Linked DNA regions of Homo sapiens: region 2 is linked to region 1. Evidence: promoter capture Hi-C in 16 types of primary human blood cells and fetal thymus (Javierre and others, 2016). All regions are on one chromosome and are shown on one strand. Each heading gives the region's core, a stretch centred on a gene start or on the middle of the fragment in contact. The rest is flanking DNA. Distances are from core to core; before and after follow the strand shown. Region 1 holds the start of MSH6 (mutS homolog 6). Region 2 holds the start of SRBD1 (S1 RNA binding domain 1).

Region 1 (6,688 bases), core at 2,068-4,567:
TTGAGAGGATGAGGCAGGAGAATCGCTGGAACCCAGGAGGCGGAGGTTGCAGTGAGCTGAGACCACACCACTGCACTCCAGCTTGGGCAACAAGAGTGAAATTCCGTCTCAAAAAAAAAAAAAATACGCTCAACATGTTTTAAGGCTTAAATGATTCATGGAGTAAGTCCGAATGTCTCTGTAGCTCATCAGACTGTTCATGATTGGATCTCTGCTTAACTTCTCCAATGCTCCCTCCTCCTCCTTTCATCCTACCCACAATTTGCAGACCTTCCTCTTCCTGAACCAGCTTCCCACTCTCACTATAATCTGTCTAAGCTTATTTGTCCTTCTGGTTTCGGTTTACAGAGCTGAGAGCCTAGCCTGACCCGCATCCTCTCCGTCCCCTTTCCACTTGGAGTCTACAATTGCCTCTTTGCTTTGTCCTGTTCATGGTTGTATCCAGGATCCATAATGCCTAATGCTGTGCTCGGCAGAGTGATCTAGACACTGCAGTTTCTTTAGAAACCTAGTATCAAATGCCCATCTTTCTTGAATACCCTGGAATCCTCTCCATAACGGGAGGTGAAATGTATACGTTTTATTTTTACAAGTCTCTTAAACTCAACCTCAAGAAACAAATAACATACGCTATTCAATATGAATGTAAAGTACATCCTTACAATAAATACACCCGTTTGGTTTGGATTCAACAATCAATTCATGCTCAAGTAAACAATACGTCATGCTTTTCTAACCAGGAGTTTGTTATTGCGGATGCTGGCTCTGTTCCCCACAAGCATATTCTACTAATGCACAACTATATATATTTAAACTGCGGGAAAGGGTCGCTTAAACAAGGGTAACACTATAATTACACTTAGAAAAATCTCAGAATTCCTTTAGGACACTTTAAACTGGATTTAAATGGATTTGAAATCCATTACTCAAAACCACTAACTAGCGGCCGGGCACGGTGGCTCACACCTGTAATCCCAGCACTTTGGGAGGCTGAAGTGGGTGGACCACTTGAGGTCAGCAGTTTCAAGACCAGCCTGGCCAACATGGTGAAACTCCATGGTGAAAAATCAGCCGGACCGCGGTGGGCACACCCGTAATCCCAGCTACTCGGGAAGCTGAGGCAGGAGAATCACTTGAACCCGGCGGGCAGAGGTTGCAGTGAGCCGAGAAAGCGCCACAGCACTCCAGCCTGGGCGACAGAGCGAGACTCCATTTCAAAACAAAACCAAACAAAAAACACGAACTGGCTCTTATCTTGAATGAGTTATTTTTTCTGAGCCTTTATTTCTTCGTTTGTTCAAATAGCGACCATTAAACTTTGTGTTTAGTATCTGACAAACGGCCGGGCTCGGTGGTTCATGCCTGTAATCCCAGCACTTTGGTAGGCCAATGCGGGCCGATCAAGAGGTCAGGAGTTCGATACCAGCCTGGCCAACATAGTGAAACCCGTCTCTACTAAAAATACAAAAATTAGCCAGGCGTGGTGGGGCGCACCTGTAGTCCCAGCTACTTGGGAGGCTGAGGCAGGATAATCTCTTGATCCAGAGACAGAGGTTGTGGTGAGCCAAGAACGCGCCACTGCACTCTAGCCTGGACAAAAGAGCAAGACTCTGTCTCAAAATACATATATATGTATCTGGCAAACAGCAAAAGCAAGCTTTTCAAAATGTCGCCAGCTGCCCGGATAAAAAGCCCTAAACAGACCGGGCGCGGTGGCTAGCGCCTGTAATCCCAGCACTTTGAGGCCGAGGCGGGTGGATCACCTGAGGTCGGGAATTCCGAGACTAGCCTGACCAACATGGAGAAACCCCGTCTCTACTAAAAATACAAAATTGGCGGGGTGTGGGGGCGCATTCCTGTAATCCCGACTACTCGGGAGGCTGAAGCTGGGGAATCGCTTGAAGCCGGGACGCGGAGATTGCGGTGAGCTGAGATCGCGCCATTGCACTCCAGCCTGGACTTGAGCGAAACTCTCTCTCAAAAAGGAAAAAAAAAAAAAAGCACTTAACTGCCCATAAAGTGAGGACAACTCCCGACAGGCTTCCCCGGAGTCACTCACGTCCACACATCTTTGTCCAGCGCCCGATTAAGGCCTCTAAAAGCCCAGTGGTGCCCCATAAAAATTACACTATTTCATAAAATAAAATATTTTCCACTCGACACGAATTTCCACATACGTCAAAATATTCTATCTTCGTCTCGGTGCACGTGCAGCCTACCTACCGAAGGACCCAGCCGGATCCCAGCACTTCGGCTCCCCACGGCCCCGCCCCGCCCAATTAGGCCCCGCGGTCCCCATGGTGACACACCCCCCCGCGCTCGCAGCTCGTGGCCCACCCCCTCGGCGGCCCCTCACCTAGGCCGAAGGCCCACCGTCCCCAAGGCGTCTCGGCGACCGCGGCTCTTAACTACCTCTAAGTGTCTACCTCGATCGACTACTGGAGCCCCAACTCACTATCTCCGCGCCGGCCGAGGAACCTCCTTTCGCACCCCACACCACCGGACTCTCCCCGTTCGGCCTCCCGCAGGCATTCCTCCTTCCCGCCACCCCGCCCCCCGCCCCGCCCACCAAGTGGGCCGGGCGCCTTCCCCTTCTCGCCCCACCCCCAGTGCTCCCACCTCCCAGGCCCCCTCCCCACCCGGAGCTGCGCGCGTCGCCCCTTCCTTAGCCCAGCACCCCCACCTGGCGGGACGCGTCTCCTCCCTCCAAAAGGCCCGAACTCTCCGCGTCTCCCCTGCAGCCCTCTTCCTGCACAGCCTCTCTCCTCCGACCCTGTTTACAAGCTACACCCCCAAATGCTCCAGACTCGACCCCTGCACTCATTCAAGCCAACTCTGCGGCCCCGCCTCCTCCGAGCCCAGGGCCAGGCCGTGCACCCCCCCAACCCCCTGTGCGAGCCTCCCCTCGCCGGGTTCCAAGCGCCCCGCCGCTATGCCCCCGCCTTCGACCCCACCCCCACCCCGCTACCTGGTGGGGGCAGCAGGCGCTACCGATCTCCGCAGCCCTCCGTTGAGGTTCTTCGCCTTGGGCGGTGACGCGGAGCGCGCCAAGGGCCTGGGCCCAGGCCCAGCCTCGCTCCAGGCCGCATCCCCGCCTGGGGAAGGAGAGGCCCCGGGGGCAGCGGCGGCACGGCCGCCTTCGCGTGAGGCCCTGGCCGAGGCCTTGTTGGCATCACTCAGCGCCGGAGACTTGGGGAAGAAGCTGTACAGGGTGCTCTGTCGCGACATACCGACAGCCGGCAAGGCCCAACCGTTCTGTCGGACGGAGCTCCTAAAAGCACCGCATCTACCGCGCGGCTCCTGCTGGCGGGAAATCTGGGGGGAGGCGCGCTCCGCCGGAGGAACCCGGGCCCCAGTGGCCAATCAACAGGCGCCTCGCCGTGCGCGGGCGGTGCGCGCCAGGCCCCGCCCCCGGGCGCGCGGCGACGTGGGGAAGGGCGGGGCTGGCACACTGGTGGGTAGGGGCGGGGCTGGCACGCTGGCGGTGAGGGGCCCGCCCTGCCGCCGACGCCTGGGCCCCGCGCGGGGAACTGCTGAGCTCCCCTTCCCTCACGCCGCGGGGCTGGCCGGGCCGGAACACTCCGACCCGGGGTTAGTTGCGGCCGCGGGGCTAGCAGGCTCGGAAAGCCCTGCCTCTCTGGAGCGGAAGCGGGAACAGCGGGGGCGCGCACCGCCCGGGCGGGGATAACCGGGGGGACCCGAAAGGCCTCGGAAAGGGGCTCGCGGGGAGAAACGCGTCCAGCGCTCGCGTGACCTCCTGCCGTTAGAGCATTTTCGCAAGGAGACGGAGCGAAAGGGACCAAACTTTAGTCAGCAGTTCACCTTCACGTTGTATTCTCAAGATTTGTATAGAGTAGGCACTTGGTAAACGCTAAATGAATATTGTAATAGCATTCGTTAGCGATGCTGTTGTGTATGGTGAAAGCCTGCAGCTGTACAAAGTTTTCCTTTGCCAGGCACTGATCCCAGCATTTTACATCTGGTAACTAAATCGATCCTCTCAATAACCTGTGACGTAAGTACTTAAGGGCCACAGTCCGTTATCTGAGCCCTTTGACCCAGGTGTGTCTTTACAGGATTTTTCAAATTTTAGAAAGCTAAGAGACTATGAGAGGCCGGGCGCAGTGGCTCACGCCTGTAATCCCAGCACTTTGGGATGCCGAGGCGGGCGGATCACCTGAGGTCAGGCGTTGAAGACCAGCCTAGTCAACATGGTGAAACCCCCGTCTCTACTAAAAATCCAAAAATTAGCCGGGCGTGGTGGCATGCGCCTGTAATCCCAGCTACTTGGGAGGCTGAGGCAGGAGAATAACTTGAACCTGGGAGGCAGCGTTTGCAGTGAGCCAAGGTCGCGCCACTGCACTCCAGCCTGGGCGACAAGAGCGAAACTCCGTCTCAAAAAAAAAAGAAAGAAAGCTAAGAGGCTATGAGAATAAAAAGGTTCTATTCAAATTCAAGAAAGATAGTGGAAGACAGACAATTGTTTGTCCCCTTATCCAGATTGTGAAATCCAGATTGCCGGAAACCAGTCACAATCAACAGCTGTACATTGGTAAAAACCTATGTAAAATTAGTTGTTTGCCTTGTTCTTGGAGACTGTTCTGCCAGAAGGTTCTCCTTTGCTAGGCAAGTAATAAAATCAATCTAAAAAAAAAAGGCGGGGGCCGGGCGCAGTGGCTCACGCCTGTAGTCCCAGCACTCGGCACTTCGGGGGGGGGGCGGAGGTGGGCGGATCACGAGGTCAGGAGATCGAGACCATCCTGGCTAACACAGTGAAACCCCGCCTCTACTAAAAATACAAAAAATTAGCCTGGCGTGGTAGCACACGCCTGTAGTCCCAGCTACTGGGGAGGCTGAGGTAGGAGAATGGTGTGAACCCGGGAGGCGGAGCTTGCAGTGAGCCGAGATCGCGCCTCTGCACTCCAGCCTGGGCGACAGAGCAAGACTCCCTCTCAAAAAAAAAAAAAGAATATTGCCAAAGGTGGTATGTGCTAAGAAAAATACAGTATGCTTCACGAATTTGCATTTCATCCCTGTGCAGGGGTCATTCCAATTTTGGTATATGTGCTACCCAAGCAAGCACAGTGAAACCAACTGTTTGAGATAATATTTGAGAGTTGGTCTCTTTCCCCCACCGGCATACGTAAACACCCCCAGAGAGTCTGGGGGAACATGCTGAAATCAAACATGCAGTAAAACTTACATGCTTATTCATACTAAGTAGAAAGAATACAGAATATAGACTATAAATAGCCTCAGGTCAAAATTTGCTACCAAATGAGTTTACCCCCAAACTTTTGGTTTACAGAGCTTTTTGGATTTCAGAATTGCACGTAAGAGGCTGGTTATCCTGTATCTCCATATCATGGATGAAGCTGAGGCACAGTTGGGTCAAGTAACTTGCCCATGACTGCATAGCTAGGAAGTGGTGGAGCCTGGATTTAAACTCAAGGAAGCTGGTTCTGGAGCCCTATGTTGTTAACAGAAATACTATAATACTTCCAATTTAACACCATTTTATCTCATTTAGTTATTACAACCACCTTATACTAGGTTGAACTATGTGAAATTGCCAAAATTTGCCCTTTTTAAAATTTTTTTGAGACAGGGTCTGGCTCTGTCACAGAGGCTGGAGTATAGTGGCGTGATCTTGGCTTACTGTAGCCTCAACCTCCCAGGCTTAAGTAATCCTCTCACCTCAGCCTCCTGAGTACCTGGGACCACAGGCCCGCAACACCATGCCCAGCTAATTTTTTTTTTTTTTAATTGAGGAGTCTTATTCTGTCACCCAGGCTGGAGTACAGTGACGCCATCTTGGTTCACTGCAACCCCTGCTTTGCGGGTTCAGGCAATTCTCATGCCTCAGCCTCCTGAGTGCTAGGATTACTGGTGCCTACCACCATGCCCAGCTAATTTTTGTTTTTTAGTAGAGACACGGTTTCACCATGTTGGCCTGCCTGATCCCAAACTCCTGACCACAAGTGACCCGCCTGCCTCAGCCTCCCAAAGTGCTGGGATTACAGGTATGAGCCACTGTGCCCGGTGCCCTGCTAGTATTTTAAAAATTTTCTGTAGAGACGAAGTTTCACTATGTTGCCCAAGCTGGACCTTTTTGGTTTTTTGGTTGTTTTGTTTTGAGACAGGGTCTTACTCTGTCTCCCAGACTGGTGTGCAGTAGTGCAGTCTCAGCTCACCACAACTTTCACCTCCCAAGCTCAAGCAATTCTCCTTCCTCAGCCTCCTGAATAGCTGGGATTACCGGCACGCGCTACTACTGCCCAGCTAATTTTTGTATTTTTAGTAGAGACAGGATTTCACCATGTTGGCCAGGCTGGTCTCAAACTCCTGACCTCAAATGATCCTCCTGCCTCGGCCTCCCAAAATGTTGGGATTACAGGCGGGAGCCACTGCGCCCAGCCAAGCTGGACCGTTTTTGAAGTACAAATATTAATATTTAATTCATTTTGGTTCAACTGAATATAACGTTATTCTCTTTTTGTTGTTGTTGTTTGTTTTTTTGGGGATGGAGTCTTGCTCTGTCACCGAGGCTGGAGTGCAATGGCACGATCTTGGCTCACCACAACCTCCGCCTCCCAGGTTAAGGCAATTCTCCTGCCTCAGTCTCCTGAGTAGCTGGGGTTACAGGCACCAACACACCCAGCTAAGTTTTGTATTTTTAGTAGAGATG
Region 2 (6,688 bases), core at 1,377-3,876, 2.2 Mb after region 1:
GATCCAAATATCTATTAGTAGGTGAAACAGTTGCATCTATTAATATATTAAGAATTTTTGTTCTTATGAAACTTAGTTTGAGGCCAATAGAGAGAATAGCTTTGTTATGTTTCAGGTGGTTAGACAGTACTTTATTTAGAGTATTTAGAGATTCGACAGTTCTGGAGCACCTTAAACATTGAGAGTCTCACTGGCCACCATAGTGGAGCGAGAAAAGGTCTTTGCTTTGAGTTTGTGGTACAGCTGGCCATCTGTATCTGCATTCATGGATATGGAACCTGCAGATGTGGTGGGCCAACTTTTTCTATCACTGATTGGTTGAGTATCTGTAAATTTTGCTATCTGTGGGGGGTCCTCAGACCAATCCCCTGTGGATAGACAGCAAATTGTATGTGGATACCTTTCAGAGTACTTGCTTTGGAGTAAAGCAGATTATTGGATTTGAATCTCAGATCTACAATTTATTAGCTGATGTGACCTTAGATGAATTATTTAACTTCTTTATACCTGGTATTCTCATTTATAAAAATGGTTTAATAGCAATATTGCATTGGGGTAATATGTGAATTATATACATAAATACATCTAAAAGCATTAACTTAGTGCCTGGCACAGGTAAGTAATCAATAAAGGTAAGTTATTACTATTATTATTACATTTGCCCTGGGGAGCTAGAACCCATAGGGGAAGGACTTGAAAACAGATAATAACATACAAATGATAATGTATCAGTGAATATCATGGGAAGAGCTATATACTTTGGAGGGATAAAACAACCTCCATCAAATCCAAAACATGTTTTCATTACTCCCAAACCCTATTGCATAGTCTCAGGTGGGTGTCCGGATTATTCCAGGCTTTCAGTCTAAACCCATGAATTTCTTGGAATTCAGCACTTGAGATCCAAAAGTAAACAATAGATTGGGCAATGTCCTAGACAGAAAAGGCAGTTTTTGTGGGAGGGCCTGTTTTATACTTAAGTGATTACAAATTTTCCTTGACAGCGTGTAGTGGGAGTGACTCTCTTATAGAATTCCAAGGGAAATATTCTCTGGACAGTCCTTATTGGCCTTTAGAGTAGGCCACTACCTACATACTTTAATTTTAGAGAACCTGCTTCAGATTTTATTTTCCCCAGATGTCTGATGTCTAAAATCTTAACAGGCTATTTATTTTTGTGATTTTTTTTTTCTTCCCCAGCTGTAAGGCAAAAATCCCTTGTGGGGAGAGGAAAGTCAAGCTTCAATGCTTTGCTGGCCCACTCTTACTCTCCTCCTCACTGTAGTGTGGCTACTACCTGCATACCCAACCCTTGAAGCTAGACTGTTTTGCTTGGGTGTCTGTTTCCTCTGGCTGTATCTGGTTCCTACTCTTGGTCGTAAATTCCTCCAGGGCAGGACTTATGTCAAAAGACTTTGCAGTATATTAGTTCACCTTTACCCTTACTACCTCTGCAATGATTGGAATGTCCCCTTCAAAAATTCAAGTTGAAACTTGTCATTGTAATAGTATGAAGAGGTGGGACCTTTAGGAAATGATTAGGTCATGAATGAGTTAATTCCATTATCACAGGAGGGTTAGTTATTTCGGGAGTCAATTGGGTTCACATGCCTCCCCCACCCCTACCCCAGTATGATGCCCTCCATCATATTTTGACACAACAATAATGCCCTCTGTCTTGGACTTCCCAGCCTTCAGAACTACAAGCCAAACAAATCTCTTTCTTTATAAATCTACCAGTCTATGGTATTTGGTTACAGCAGCAGAAAATTGACCAAGACAACCCCTTACCATAAACCTGAGTAGCAAATGCAACATCAAAAGTAGGTGAATAGTAAGTAGTACATTATTGTTGTTGATTTCTATGATCTGGTTTCTCTTCCCACAATCCTGAACGGTAAGGTGTTCTCTAGTATTTCTTCAGGACCATAAATTGTGAAGGAGACTGTGATTGTAGTAGACAATTCTAGGCCTTCTGGAACCATCACTAAAGGCAACATACGACTGTGCTAATTAAAAGGAAAAAAAAATCCCTAAACAATCTCGGAAACTGATCTTTCCTGGCCAACAATCTCAGATATAGAAGATTAGATTTACTAAATTTAGAAAGAATCCTTTTTTTTTTCCCCCAATCACAAAAATTATCCAGTAAAATCTATGCTCACTTCCGGTAGATCTGCAACAAGGCACGGTCACAGGTCATTTCAATAACTTGCTAGGCTCTTCAGTACTCAGAGTCCCTGGAAATAAGTCATTAGCAGTGGAAAGCTGCTTTTTAGAATTTTCTAAAACAAATCCATGGGGTTTTGATCTGCTAAATTCGAATGTAGACAACAGCAGCCTTATTTCCCTACTTTTATAATCTAATTTATTTGGCTGTATCTGTGGGCTTAAGAGTTTAGTGTTCTTGGTAAATAACACGTAAAAAAAAAGTCATTTTTCATTTCTACGAACCAGCCCCACCCCGGCGCTCCCTCGGGATCCTCGCTCTAGCCCCGCCTCCGTCCAGCCTGGCTCCGCCCCGTTCGGTAGCGCCGCGCCTTGGAGGTCTGTGGCTAACTTGGTCCGGAAGAAGCGAGGCGGACCTTCTGGCGTTTGAAAAACTTCCGGCGGGAACCGGAAGGTGCGGTGGCACTCACGGAATCTCGGGTCTTCTGACGTGCCGGGCGGGAAGGTGAGCTGTGCGTGCGCCTTGGCGGTCGTCTTGCGGGTTCTCAAGAGCCCGGCGTCCGGGCTCCGGGATCTTTGGGGCCATTAAAAAAGTTCTGAGCGCTCATTTGGGCAATAACACCCCTTTTTTAAAAGTGAGAAGTTCATTACATTTTACTGTCAGCGGTCTCTCACAACCGACCACCCGAAAACCCCTCCTAGCTACCTCGTGACACCTCTTTTCAGCCAAATTGCTGCAGCTCTTAGCGCATAACAGACATAGAAAAGCCTGGGCAAGCCTGTTTTTTTTTTTTTTGAGACGGAGTCTCCCTCTGTCGCCCAGGCTGGAGTGTAGTGGAGCGATCTCGGCTCACTGCAAGCTCCGCCTCCCGGATTCACGCCATTCGCCTGCCTCAGCCTCCCGAGTAGCTGGGGCTACAGGCGCCCGTCATCACACCCGGCTAATTTACCTGGATTGTTTTTATACCTAAAATTATCGGAGGTGGGAGAGGAAGCACCCTTTTCACGGTCATGGTGGCCCTGTCTGAATCAACTGCACCTTCTGTAGTGCGCCTGGCATGTAGGAGGCGCTCAGTAACCGGAGGAAAGGAATGAATTGGGAACTCTCTAGGCAACTTTCCTCGAACCCCTCACGTGACATGTCATTAACATATTGTGTGTGGAATGGGAAACGAGACTAGTCTTGGTGTTCCAGGCACTGGGCTATAGTCCTTTGCCACATATCTTTCCCCTTTGAGTAAACTGTTTCACCTCATTGGGTCTCAGATTTCTGAATATAGCGGGACTGTCTGATCTCAGGTTCTTTCAGCTCTAGTATTTTGTTTTTGTGACTTGGGAATCTGCTAACATTCAAGCACTCTGTTGGTCCTTCATGGAAACTTGTTTAGGTGCTTCTTAAGAAATTGTCCTCCTTTGTTTGCCTTCTTGAATTTAAATTTTTTTTTCCAATTTTAATTTAGTATTTGTTAGTGTGCACGTCCTTTTGCCCCTTTGTCCTGATTTGCAGTCGTCCTAGTTTAGTGGCTCTTCCCTTAGTAACATCATAGCAACCTCCAAATTATTGGTTTGGAATATGCTCATGTGCCTACAGTGATTAAGATAGTTTGAAAGGAGGGAAAAATCCCAAGTCACTGAAGAATAGGAATATTCTTATGTGCCATCACTTCTTCAGAAAGAGATGAATGCAATGTGTGGCATTGCCTAAGAGTGGTGGAAAATAAATGTATATTCCTCTGTAGAGACCATATTTGTACATATTATGTTCATTTAATAGTTGTAGGGCATCTGTTAAGTGCTAGGTTCTATGATATGGAAGTGAATAAGGCACATGCATTTCCTTCTTTCATGGTATTTACTCTCTTGACAGCAGTGCAAGCAATAAACAAGTAAAATAAAAATAATTACAGATTGTGTTATAACCTACTGTATACAGGAAGTAAATAGGCTCCTTTTAAAATATAATTGAGAAACCTATTTTAGGCCTGAAATGTTAAGATCTAAGGGATGCAAGGAGCCAGCCAATTGACAAGCAGGGGGAAGAATACTCCAGGCAGAGAGTACCTGAGGTGGGAAAGAATGTTATGACAAGAGCTGAGGAGCTCCAGCAAGTAGTAAAGGTGGTTAGAAAGGTGAGCAGGGCTCAGTCCGACAGGGCCTTTTCAAAGGCCTCATAAAAATGTGGCTTGATTCTAAGTGAAGGATGGGGTGGGAAGTAATTCGTTGTTTCTAAAGCATATTCTAAATGATCTTGAGTTGATAAGTGGAGAATGAGTTGCAGGGGCAAGAGTGGAAGTAGGGAGGGCAGTTAAGAGGCGAGTGTGGTAGTTCAAGTGAGGGAGGTTGAGGACTAAAGGCTCACTGAAGATCGTGGAGATTCAAGACATTTTGGAGGAGGATCTTATGTGACTTACTAATAGTCTGGATATGTGAGATGAAAGAAAAAAAGATTTGTAACATTTTGACTTAGCAAATGGAACTTTGGAGGATGATAATGTGTTCATTTTCTTGATTGTAGTGATATGTATACATATGTCAAAACATCAAATTTGCACACTTTAAACATGTGCAGTGTATTGCATGTCAATTATATGTCAATGAAGCTGTTAAAGAATTTTCTGGCCAGGCGCCATGGCTCACACTTGTAATCCCAGCACTTTGGGAGGCCGAGGCAGGCAGATCACCTGAGGCCAGGAGTTCGAGACCAGCCTGGCCAACGTGACGAACCCCGTCTCTATCAAAAATAGAAAAATTAGCTGGGTGTGGTGGTACACGCCTGTAATCCCAGTTACTTAGGAGGCTAAGGCAGGAGAATTGCTTGAACCTGGGAGGCAGAGTTTGCAGTGAGCTGAGATCACTCCAGGCTGGGTGACAGAGTGAGACCGTCTCAAAAAAAAAAAAAAATTTTTTTTTTCAAGGTTCTGGCTTAGCAAATAGGTGGGTGCCACTTATTGAGATGGGAAGGACTGGAATAGGAACAGGTTTTAGAGCAAGAAATGGTCATCAAGAGTTCCATTGTGGATGTGTTAAGTTAACTGTGAGACATCTAAATAGTTTCAGAGACAGGCAGTTTATTATAGAAATCTGAATGTTAAAGGCACGGTTTGGGATGGAGGGATTAGGATTGTTAATAAGTAGGTGACATCGGTATGTAAAACCGTGGAGATGGATGAGGTTTTGGTTAATCTAACAAGTTTTATGACACAAAGTAAGAGGATATGGGAGTAGTGGAGATGGAGAAACAGGCCTCAAGAATATTGGTGTTTAAACTGGAGAATACATACTCCTGGGGGTGTACCTGTCGTAGGTAGTTTTAAAGACATAATTTCCAAGTCTTCAGCTTTTGTATATATTCTTTCTAAATCTGATCTGCTTGAAATTGGCTTGTGTGTTCATGCAGATTCTGCTTTCCCACCTTTCCTTTTACATTGATATTTTTAACATTTGTGAAAAGAAATATTACAACTCACTCATCTTTCCATGGTATATTGCTTTCGGGGTGCCTTATAAAGAGGCAGTTGGAAATATTTGATTTAGGGGAGCCTTCTTTAAGGATAATGGTTAAGCAAAAACATAAGCCTGCCAAGGGTTTGCCTGTCCCTATTTTAAACACATTTCTGTTAAGGCTGAAGTGTGGAGATAGAATTAGTATATGGTAGTCTGTGTGGGAATGTTCTGAATTCAGGCATATTGTAGAATGTGGTGGTAGGAGTGATTGTAAGGTGATCTGGGTGGGTTGTTTGATGGGAAGCTTAGCACCTTCAAGTTTTTACTCTTGGACTGGTTAGATTCTCCAGAGAAAAGCCTTCCCATTCTCCTCCCTAGAGGGCAGTATTTTAGGAATTTAGTGGCGGAAGACTAGGGTTCTCTGCCTTTAGCATTCAGTCTGTATGGTTCCCATGCCCACAGTCTAGACTGTTTCATTAATACCTTCTCCAGAGAATAAACTTACAGTCTTTTTCCTGGGGCAGTTGCCTAATAGCATGAAGTGAGGTAGGACACTTAGAGATATTCCTTTGTCAGTTTATACACAGCCCTAACCCGTTTCACCTTTAATTCCAAAGGTATCAGCTACTGCTTCATATGAATTTTTTTTTTTTAGAATACTGCAGGGTAAATTGGTTTGGTTCTCATATGCTCCCACTACTGGCTTGGGATTTTAATTTTTATGTGTTGCAATTTGTTAGTCTTTTTGGTTTTGGAATTTTGAGGAGTCATATTTAGGAAAACCTCCATTTCCCCATCTCCCCTCAATAGTGTGAAAAGAATCACCTTTATTTCTTAGTTCTTTTATAGTTTTAATTTGTACATTTTAAACTATTAGTTATTGGGGAATAAATTTTTGTTAATGGTGTGGAGGTAGGAATTAAACTCCTTTTTTTCTTCTAGAGGAATAGCTAGTTGTCTCAATACCATTTATTGAATAATCCATTTTTACCCTGCCCTGATTTTAAATGCCACCCTTGTCATACACTAACTTCCTCCATTCTTATTTTGTTGTGGTAAGATACACATAATATAA

The links. Contacts are between HindIII fragments. The CHiCAGO score rates a contact against its expected background, and 5 or more counts as called.
Region 2: the fragment with the promoter of SRBD1 here is called in contact with the fragment with the promoter of MSH6 in region 1 in 2 of 17 cell types (non-activated CD4 T cells and total CD8 T cells); the score reaches 9.9 in non-activated CD4 T cells.

The regions. Positions count from the first base shown.
Region 1 is chr2:47,779,774-47,786,461 of GRCh38, reverse strand. MSH6 (mutS homolog 6) reads right to left here and starts at 3,317. Exons shown (of 10, transcript NM_000179.3): 1 at 2,969-3,317. The coding sequence starts at 3,228. RefSeq lists silencers at 2,535-2,624, 2,825-2,984, 3,265-3,744, 4,895-5,076 and an enhancer at 3,875-3,944. The HindIII fragment of the contact is 5,497 bases long and covers 1,660-6,688 here.
Region 2 is chr2:45,607,205-45,613,892 of GRCh38, reverse strand. It overlaps SRBD1 (S1 RNA binding domain 1), which reads left to right and starts at 2,626. Exons shown (of 21, transcript NM_018079.5): 1 at 2,626-2,674. RefSeq lists an enhancer at 2,806-2,975. The HindIII fragment of the contact is 4,677 bases long and covers 1,243-5,919 here.